Regions from separate parts of the Homo sapiens genome. Here region 1 is linked to region 2. The links are contacts of gene promoters, found by promoter capture Hi-C in human tissues and cell types (Jung and others, 2019). All regions are on one chromosome and are shown on one strand. The core of a region is centred on a gene start or on the middle of the fragment in contact, and the rest is flanking DNA. Distances in the headings are between cores, read along the strand shown. Region 1 has its middle 15 kb from the start of CCDC149. Region 2 holds the start of LGI2 (leucine rich repeat LGI family member 2).

Region 1 (5,130 bases), core at 2,531-5,030, 100 kb before region 2:
ATTCCTGTTCAAAAGCAGGGAAAATGAAAGGCATTGGTGGTCACTTGTCCATAGCAATTCTGAAATGTGGGGACAGCTTAGGACTCAGTCATACTCTTTGGGAGTTTTTCTTCATGGCTCTTGGTTCAGCCCTCTGAGTTATCCTTCATTTTCCATAAGAAATACTTCAGTATGCAATTGAATAGCCTTTTTAGCCTGGTTCTTGCCTTTAAAAGACTGGGGGTGGGGTAGGGTCAAAAGAATTCTTTTCATCTCGTACTGTCTCTGTTCCTGTCCATCAAAGCTAACATGCTTCCTTTTAAAAAAACTTTGCGGTGTTTTGTTTCGTTTTATTTTGTTTTACTTTGTATCAATGCATAATCAACTTTATAGACAAAAATCACACTTACAAATCTCTTTGAGTCAGGTCCTTCTCTATCTTGGGTCTTTGTGTCACTGTTGTGGGACAGTGCCCTCAAGATTCTTTGAAGTCTTATTGTTTAACAAAGAAGGTCTACAAGACAAACACTATAGATTCTTAAAGAAGGACTTTTATGTTCCTGGAAGCTTCTCTGAAGTAGCATGTAAGATATTTCTGAGGCTTAAACAAGGGATCTTACAGTCCCATTCTGAATTCATATTTTCCCAGAGCCTATTTATTAATTTGGGACACTTTCCTGGCTAAGATGACTATTCTGAGACCTTATCTATCCTTCCAATTAGGCTTGAAGGCTTAAGAATTCATTCTTGGCCGGGCATGGTGGCTCACACCTGTAATCCCAGCACTCTGGGAGGCTGAGACGGGCAGATCACCTAAGGTCAGGAGTTCAAGACCAGCCTGGCCATGGTGAAACCCTGTCTCTACTAAAAAAAATACAAAAAATTAGCCAGGCATTATGGTGTGCGCCTGTAATCCCAGCTACTCGGGAGGCTGTGGCAGGAGAATCGCTTGAACCCGGGAGGTGGAGATTACAGTGACCCAAGATGGTGCCTTTGCACTCCAGCCTGGGCAACAGGAATGAAACTCCATCTCGAAAAAAAAGAAAAAAAGGAATTCATTCTTGAGTTTGTCTCATTCCTCCCATTTTGTTATAGGGAACAGAAAGAAGTTAGTCAGCACCCTCAATGCTTTGCCTGAAATCAAGTTTAATAAATATGCTTTCCATTTTATGCATTATCACAGGAAACAGTTTTGCTAAACTTTCTTCCACTGCATAACAAGGACCTCCCTTTCCTGGGTTTCCAGATAACATATTCCTCAGTTTCCTTTAAAGTCTCATCAACATTCCCCTTGAGGCCCTTCCAGCTTGTCCTACCTTCCCTCAGGGGCTTCCAGAACCCACTGCGGAGTGTCCCAGTGCTAATACTACATGTTTCTGTTTTCTGTTACAAATGCCTCCCACTTCCAGCTTCCAAATTTCTGTTTCAATGTTTCTGTTTCTATTGCTGCTGATTCTGTTCCTATTGCTTCCAAACTTGGTAACACAGAATAACCATTTTATTATTCTCACAGATTATGTCGGTCAGGAATTCAGAAATGGCGTAACAGGGAAAGCTTGTCTCTGCCCTGTTTAGGGTCTCAGCTGGAAACGCTTGAAGGTTGGGAGTGATTCCCTGCTTGGGACTGTGGATCGTCTGAAGGTTTCTTCAATCGCATGTCTGGCACCTGGGCTGGGAGAACTTGAAGACGAGGACTGTTAACTGGAGCACCTACACGGGGCCACTCCATGCCACTTAGCTTCCTCGCAGCATGGCAGCCTCAGGACAGTCACACTCCTTACAGGCAGCACGGCTCCTAGTGTGAATGTTGCAGTGGACTAAGCAGAAGTGGCATTGCCCTTAAGACCCCCAGCCTCCGAAGTCAGGCATGGTCACTTCTGCTACATCCCATAGGTTACAAGGAAGTCCCAAGCTTGTCTGGATTTGAGGGAAGAGAACACAGACTTCTCTTGATGAGAGAATATCAAGGTCATATTGTAAAGGAGTACATGAGATGTGAGGTTCTTGCAGCCATCTTTCGAAAATATAATTTCCCACATCCAGGAAGGTCATTACTGACGAAGCAGAACTGAAACTCAGTTGTGTTTATGGCCAGACCCCTGTTCTTTCACTATACCATGCTGATGAGTCAATAGCATCATTTGCATGAATGAAAGATCTTACGTTATTAAAAAGAAAAGTTGAAACGTAAGGCAAGATGCCAAATTCAGTCTCAATTGAACATTCTCTGTATTACAAATGCAGCATAAATATATGTTTTCCATAGCTCTTGCAGAGCAAACAGCTGCGTTTATTTGCATCCAAAAACATGGAAAAATTCCAAACTATAAGCAAAGAACTCAAGAACACGACTCAAACTTCTGTAAATGTAAATCTTCATAAAAATAGTTGTAACGTTGATTAAAGCAGGTGCTGAAACCTTCTCCTAGCCTGAAGTATTCCACTTACAAACAACCCCCTTCCCGTATAATGATGTAGTTTTCTAGGAACTACTCGTATATTTGGCTAAGCAGTCAAATGCCTATTAAACTTCCTTATATTAACTTGATCTACCACCTCCTCCTCCATCTCCAACATACACCAACTCTGGTTCTCTCTACACTCATGCACACACACACACATACATTCTTTCCTGTATCACCCTGGAGTCCTTTAAGAGTTCCTTAGATCTTTACAGGGGATATATATATGCTTGGCTTGAAAAAAAACTCAGCGTACCTATACCTGTGCACATCCATGAAATCTAAGTGAATTTCTTCCTTTTGCCCCATGAATAGAGTCTAGAAGAAGGATAGAACCAAAAAAACCTCTATAAAATGGCTCACCCCTTTTCCTCCCTCTATCACATTCTATGTCTGGTCTGGGAATCTGAAAATGTCAGGCAATACATTGTTCGCTGTGATTGAGCATTAGCAAGAGAGTTCTTTGAAAGGATTCTATTACATCTTTATGTCTTTGCATATAAACTTGGACTTCCCTAAAAACTCAGTTCAAATTTGATTTGCAGTGAAAATTCTTGAAATTGTGGTAAGGATTTTAAGAGATAAAGAAGGAAAACACTATTCAGGGATTACTGTGTGCAAAGCAACATGCTCGGTATTTTTCTAGAGACACGTACATTGGACTGTGATAGCATAAAAGAGGTTAAGATTAATACTATGTGTTGATGATGCAGGTGCCCAGGAAGGAGAAGATGGCGAAGGGGAGGAGAGGGTAGGGCATTGTGAGGGAAAGTGGGCACAAGCTTTTCCTGAAGGATGCCTAGGAATTCCAACAGAATGGATGGTATGCATAAAAGTCGAAGGCTTAACATGGACCACCAGTATTTTTCATTTTCTTCATGAAATCACTGACTCCTTCTCATTGTCAATATATGAATCTAACCATGACTGGGTGATCCAAGAATCCCCTCTCAGCTCCTACTACTCTTGTTCTTGCTTTCTTTGCTCCAATCACACTCACCTGGCCCTTTCCCACCTCAGGGATCCCCTGCTTGGAATGCTCTTCCAGAACTGTGAAAGATAAATTTCTGTTGTTTTCAGCCACTGAGTTCATGGTAATTTGTTACAGCAACCCTAGGAAACTGACACAGGTGCTGTCATGGTCTTCACAGGGCAGAGGTGTCTTCCTGTCACTCCCTAATGTGTCCAAAAGCTGAAATGAGTCCAGAAGGTCAGGAAGGCAAAGAACAAGAGGAATGGGGTGAACTTCATGTGACAGGCGGGGCAGCACACTTCCCCTTTTCAGGTGACATTTATGGTCAACTGAAATGATCTTGCATTATTGCTAAACTTCATCTGCCAGGTTGCTACAGTGTCATGCATTGAGCTATGTGTCCGCCTAATTTAAACAAAGAATCAGTGCCCTTTTTGCAGAGAGCTTTTATCCACTGGTTCTTTTATGAAAGGCCAAGGTATGGAAATCTAGCCTCTACACCAGGGTTTTGCCATCCCATGGTCTGGTGAAGATGCTTGGTCCCATTCCAAGCTGGCCTAAATGTGCTGGTTTATGACTTCTGTGTTTCCTAAACTGATTGCCAAGCAGCCCTGCTCTGCTGATTCTCAAAAACAGCCCGTCGTCTGCAGCACTTTTTCTCATGTGGGCTCCCAGGGAGTGGGAATCGGCTCTCAGCGGCTCATGAATCATGGTCTCCAGGATTCTTCTCAGAGGCAGAAAGATTTCTGGGTAGATGAGAAAATTTTACAAAATCTCTTCTCCCTCCTAATCCTTAGCGCCACCACCGCTATCATTTCCATAATCATCTTTATAATTATTTGAAGTGGAAAGGGGGCAGGGTACCTGCTTAATGAAAAGTAGATGGGAAAAAATAGAAACTGTGGAGATAGGTGATTGAATAGCCTCTCTCAGAAATGCACATCATGTGTGATTATGGAGAGTTTGAAAGATCAGACCTCAACACCCTTTTCCAACGTAAACTCTGTCTCTCCTCTTCTTACACCCTTCACCGCAGTCCAAGTGAATCTCTGACTTTCTGTCCTAAAGACCTCCTGATTTCCTCCCTCTGTGCCTCTGCTTATGTTTTGCCTAGAACACCCACTCACATCGCAGAATCTTCCAGCTAGCCCTGCTTCTGAACTCCTGAAAAGTCTTATCTGAGCCTCTTTGGGAGCTCTTGTCATTTTCTGCTTTATATTTTATTGCTTATATAATATTTTTTCCCTACCTGATTATGAACTTTAGACCGTCTCTCTGACTCTCTGCCTCTCCCCCCATCAACCAACAAGCATGCACTTTGAATGCAGGTGCTCAACAAATGTCTATGGAAAGAACAAGAAACTAGAAGTTTACTATCATTCTTTTAATAGACAAGAATGTGTTGACAAGAAAAGTGTTTATCAAAGCCTGCTATGATTCTCCAAACACTTTTACACCTTTCCTCTTTTTCCTGGACATACAGACAAATGACATTTACTTGCCTGTTTTTCAGCTGGAGGAGACCCTGTAACTGGGTGAGTGGAAAGTGAACAGAAATGATGTGTGCCACTTTTAAACCTGCATTAAATCTCCATGCATGACCTTCCATTTCCTTTCCCCTCTGCCAGCTTGGTACAGGTAAGCATGGTGACCTTGGAAACCACAGCTAGGAGCTGGCAGAGCCAGGAGACTGAAAGAGCTTGCATCCCTGAGTCA
Region 2 (5,227 bases), core at 797-3,296:
TAATCGCTTCACCTCTGCCCATGATTCTGTTTGTGTAGACACAGCGTTGTGTTGGCCTATGAAATGCTGGGGTAGGATTAAGCATTCCTCTTGGGACCCCATCTCTGAAAGACAGAGCACTCCTGATTAAATGCAACATGAAAGCCCTGGGGAAAAACTCACAGACACCTGAACTCCCCTGTGTGGGGAGAGGCAGTACCATCTGCCAGATAAAACGGTCAACCAGGAGGCAAGATGCTTGGCTTTATTTCTGCCCCCAGGCCCCCATCCTTTCTGGCCACAGCAGGATCTGAATACATTATTTCAGAATTCCTTTCAGTTGGCATGCAGATCACTTAAGCAGCTGCTGGTCTGAAGGATTTAATAAGGGGAACTCTAATTTCTGGAATCCTCCATGTCACCCGACTTAGCAATATTAAGAATCAAAAAGGTCCTCTGTTCCCACCAGCCAAACTCTTCTGACTTTCTATAAATGCAAATGGGAACCCCCTCACTCCTGGGTCCAGGCCCCTACAATTTGCCTTGGGTGGGAGGCTGGGAAGCACTGGACACAAGAAAGTATCTTGAGCACAAGCAACGTCACCCCGGGGATTCCCTGCCTCCACCACTGACTGGGCACCCAGGCATCTTGGCCTGGAACAAGAGAGTGGTCTTAGCAGGAAACATGTCCTAGCAGTAAAGATACAGCCCAACAGCCCCTTCCACCGCCCTTGTGAGAGCTGGTCATTTGGCTTGAGTGGCCAGGTGAGGGCAGGATGAAAGCACCTCTCGGCAGGTGGATACCTAATGTGAAGCCCTTTCCTGTCAGTTCCTCCTGCTGAAAAAGCAGCCAACACAACTGTGTGATGGAGAAAGGGGGCAAGAAGCCCTCCTGACCTCAGGGCAAGAAGGCTGACTTCAAAGCACTTGGCCACTGGGCTAGGCGCCCAACATGCCCCAAACCTCTGCCCAGCCTTCTGTTACCCCTCTTCTAGGCCACGGGGGGCGGCCCCTCCCCTCCCAGAGCCTGCATGCCTTGACCTCGACTTTTTGCAACCTGCAATGTGGAGAAGTCGGGAGGAGGCCACGGGGTGAACATTCGCCCCAGACCTGATGTGGGGCAGTGAGGCCTCACCCTGCCCAGTTTGCACTCAGTCAGGTCGTGTTCAGCTGCTCCTATGCACGCCCCTACACACACAACTCCAACCCGCAAACACACACACACACACGCACACGCCCTCTCAAACTTTAATGCACCCTTGAGTCTCCCGGGGACGTCAAACGCACACTCCAGGACTCCACTCCAAAGACTGCTTCAGAGCAGCTGGATTCTGCATTGGCACAAGCTTCCCCAGGTGAGTCTGATGCAGGTGGCCCGTGGGCCACACTCTGAGAAACGCTGCCACAGGAACCTGTCTGGGTTCCCAGATTCTGGGGCTCAGGTCCTCACCGTCCTCCCCGGGGGCCAACACTCCACCCACGTCCCCCACACAAAGGCAAAGAAGGGGCCTGGGGAGTGGGTCAGGGTCGCGCTGGCCCGGCGCCAGAGGCAACTCCCTCGCGGCGGCGGACGCAGGGTGGGGCGGGACGGGATGGGGGCTGGAGGGGTCCCACTCACAGGGAGCTGATGTCGCCCGGCACGATCCTGGGCACCCAGGAAGAGCCCACGCAGATGATAGACTCCTTGGTACAGCTGCAAGTGGCGGGGCAGCGCGCCAGCCGCCTCACCTGCGCGCTCCGCGGTATCAGGCACGCGGCGCCCAGCAGCAGCAGCAGCAGCCCGAGCGCTCCGCAGCCGCCTCTCCGCAGCGCCATGCCCGGTCCCCGCTCCCCGCCCGGGCCCCGACCCCCACCGCCGCGCCGCGCGCTCGGACCCGGCGCCGCTGCAGACGCGGGCGCCGCTCGCTGCTCTGCCGCCGCCGCTGCTGGCGAGGACTAGGGAGCCGCGGGTGTGGGAGGCCGAGCCGCAGCCGAGCAGCATGCTGGCCGCCACCCCCACTCGGCGCCCCCCCACCCGAGCCCGGGCTGCTGGGCGGCCGCCGCCGCTGCGCCCGCCGCACTCGCGCCTGCCTGACATCAGCACTCGCGCCCGCAGCCCGGCTCTGGCCAATGAATAATGCATGGCGGGGCCCGCCCCGCGGGGGAGGGGGCCAGCGCCGGCCCCGTGGCGCCCCACCCGGCCCCCACCTCGCCACCCCCTCTCGCCCCGGGCCGGGCGCGGGGACAGAGGGAAAAGTTGGGTGACCTTGGGGGAGGGGCCAAGCCTGGCGGAGACCCCCGTCGGGGCCTGACTGAGCGGTGGAGGATCCGATGCCTGCAATACCTCCAGGGGTATAATCTGGGGAGGGCACTGGGTTCCTTTCAGGCAAATCAATAAAGTCGGAGCGGGGAGTGTGGAGAACCGGCTTGATTACTGGGGAGGGAGGCAGCCCTGGGTGCTTTGAAGAGGAGAGACTTTGGAGCAGCCTTTATTAATTTTGAAGTGCATGCTGCCGGTAGGGTCAGCGAGGATGGCTTTGCTTGTCTTCTGCGGTGGGGCAGTGAGGTCTGGCTCTCGCTCCCACAGCACCAGGGGTTACTGAAGCCAGCCAGTCCTCCCATGGGAGGAACGTGGGGAAGCAAAGCCGCTGCAGCCTGCACGCCCGGCGCTCTGGGCCCTGCCTGCTGCCTGCTAAAGAGCTGGAAAGCCCGGGAAAGTTTCCCCTCGCTCAGCTGCCCACGGGTCACCCCACCCGCCCCAGTCAGAGGAGGGTTTGTAGAGATTGAGGGTGTGATACATTCTAGCCACTGTACTTTTAATCTTCTAACCTTTTGAGGCAGGTCCTACTTATATCCTTAATTTATTGATGAGGCTGCTGACGCCCAGAAAGCATCCTGACTGGCTGATGGTCCAGCAGCTCCTGGCTGGGCAGGATGGGGCTCGGAGCCTTGAAGGGCTACCTTAACTGGGCCCTCCTGAGCCCCTCTTCAACTCCTTAAGTTTGAAGCAATGAGCGGAAATCTTAACACAGGTAATGTGCGGCTGAGGAAATCAAAGAAAATGACCAAAGCGGAAACAAAGTAATGGCTAATAACCTGAACTGCTGGGAGAAGGGAATCACAGCACGACTGTCGAGCTGCAAACCAAGGAAAAGCATGCCAGATGCTAAAACCTACTCAGAAAAGTCAGTATCGAATGCAAAAGTAGGAATCATACTATTGCTTCTTCAGCAATTATTGTTGGTGATCCATTGACAAGATCCATGAGGACGGTATCAGGCTGGCTGCTGTGGGAGGGAACAAAGGAACAGCTCCTGTCCTCAGGGAGCTAAAAGTCTAGCTGGACAGACAACCCTAAAAGAGCAACTCCACTGGCTACAAGGGGGTCACAGACTGACCAAAAGAGGTTCAGGAATTGAAAGAGAGCTTTGCGTAGGCAACTTCATGGAGGGAGTTAGACATTCCCTGCTGGTGACTATGTAAAAAGCACCTGGCATCAGTACAAACCAGCCTGCATTTATCATCATTTAATTCTTGCATCTGTCCTGAGAAATGGGTCCTCCCATTTTATGGATGGGAACATTGAGCTCAGAGAAGTTTTTATCTTGTCCAAGATCACACAGGACATGGCCAGGGAGATCATACTCCACAACTGGCTGCTGTGTCTAACCCTCGCTGCTGTGTGGGCATGCATTTACAAATACTTTACTCAGCAAGCCCCAGTGTTAGGGGCTGAGGACACAGACCACAGCCTGGGAGGGCGACAGACATGCAGACCCACAATCGTGGATGTGTGTGCTGTGCACCTGAAAGATGTTTCCCTTAAGAGGGATGGGCTACTGCTTTATAGAGCAGAGGAACGGAGGCTTCTCAAACAGAGCACTCCCTGCTGACCCAGGAAAAGAAAATCTATTTCTCACCTCTGAGTGAGAGCCTGGGGGCAGGGTGGCATAGCTAAATGCTGGCCTCAGGACTAGACAGGTTGGGGTTTGCATCCCAGCCTACCACTTACTGATGTGTAATTGTGTAATCCCAGCCTGCCACTTACTGCTGTGCAAGCTGTGATCTTTCTAAACCTCCATTTCTTCACCTGTAAACAAGAGGTTGTTGTAACCACATTTGGGGGTTAAATGAGATCAAGAAAGTAAAGCATTTAATACCACAAAGGAGGCACTGGGCGTTTGAGCAGAGTTCTATGTGACTAGATTGTAGGTAAGTGACGGAGAGAGGACTATGGAGGGAGATGGGTTTTCCTGACTTCTGTCCTTCCATTGTAATCAGAGTCACTGTCTTGTGTTGTGGTTCTCAATTGCGGGTAATTCAGGGGACACTTGGCCATGTGTGGAGATATTTGGGGTGGGTGCCCCTGGCGTCTAATGTGTAGAGGCTGGGGACGCTACTAAACATCTTGCAGTACTCAGCAAGAATGATCCAGGTCAAAATGTTGCTAGAGCCAAGGTTGAGAGAGCCTGGCTTAGTGTTCTGGAAAGACCCTTGGCATGAGGAATTCCAGAGATGCAGATTGTAAGTCAGGTTCATCAATCACAAGCAAACCTTCTTGGTCATGTTATTCCCATCTCTAGCTTCTATTTTTTCATCTATAAAATGGGGATAAAGAGCCCTTCTGCACCCTTTCCTAAATAAATGTGACATATCATCATTGTTCCTAACCTTAACTTCCAACAGCTAGAGCTAGCTCCAGCCCACCCTCTCCACCCCAAAAAACTAAAAAGTTCCTGATAGGAATGGTGCAGAAAGTAGGCCAGAGTAGCATAGCTGGCAGAGTTAGTATTTGTTTCGGCTCTGCTAGAGACACTAAGTAAGTGAGTGCTTGTAAATTATAAGGCGCAGTTTATAAATTAAAATATAAAAATGGAAATGCAGATTACTTTGGTGTGGTTCCAAGTTCCTCAGCAGTTTAAAAAAAAACTTAATAGACAATCAGAGAGACACAATCTGTTTCAGGAAATAGCAAGAGTTTTTGAAAAATCTTTGTAAAAATCCTTGTTGAGACGTAAACTTACTCAAGCTATGTCTTTATGACATGAATAACACACGTTCCTACAGTGGCTGAAATGGCGTAGGCTTGAGTGGCCTTCTCTAAAGTCTCAAACCGGTTCTACTTTATATGACTCCATGTGTTGGCAGCTCAAAATGGCATTCATTCATGTGTTCATGTACCCTCATGTTCAGCTACTTGTCAGTTAATTCTGTCAGTATTAACTGAGAACCTACTATGTGCTGGGCATCAATAATAAAACAATGACCA

Evidence for each region. The method cuts DNA at HindIII sites, captures the fragments that hold promoters and counts their contacts. A contact is called where the count stands out against the background at its distance.
Region 1: a contact is called between a fragment that was not itself captured here and the fragment with the promoter of LGI2 in region 2, in 2 of the 25 tissues and cell types used here (H1 embryonic stem cells and dorsolateral prefrontal cortex).

What each region holds. Positions count from the first base shown.
Region 1 is chr4:24,925,185-24,930,314 of GRCh38, forward strand. It overlaps a transcript of CCDC149 not described here. Among named protein-coding and RNA genes, the nearest start is that of CCDC149, 15 kb to the left of the region's middle. The HindIII fragment of the contact is 7,343 bases long and covers 110-5,130 here.
Region 2 is chr4:25,028,900-25,034,126 of GRCh38, forward strand. LGI2 (leucine rich repeat LGI family member 2) reads right to left here and starts at 2,047. Exons shown (of 8, transcript NM_018176.4): 1 at 1,598-2,047. The coding sequence starts at 1,794. It overlaps LOC124900684 (a long non-coding RNA gene), which reads left to right and starts at 1,209. Exons shown (of 2, transcript XR_007058083.1): 1 at 1,209-1,334. The HindIII fragment of the contact is 9,452 bases long and covers 1-5,227 here.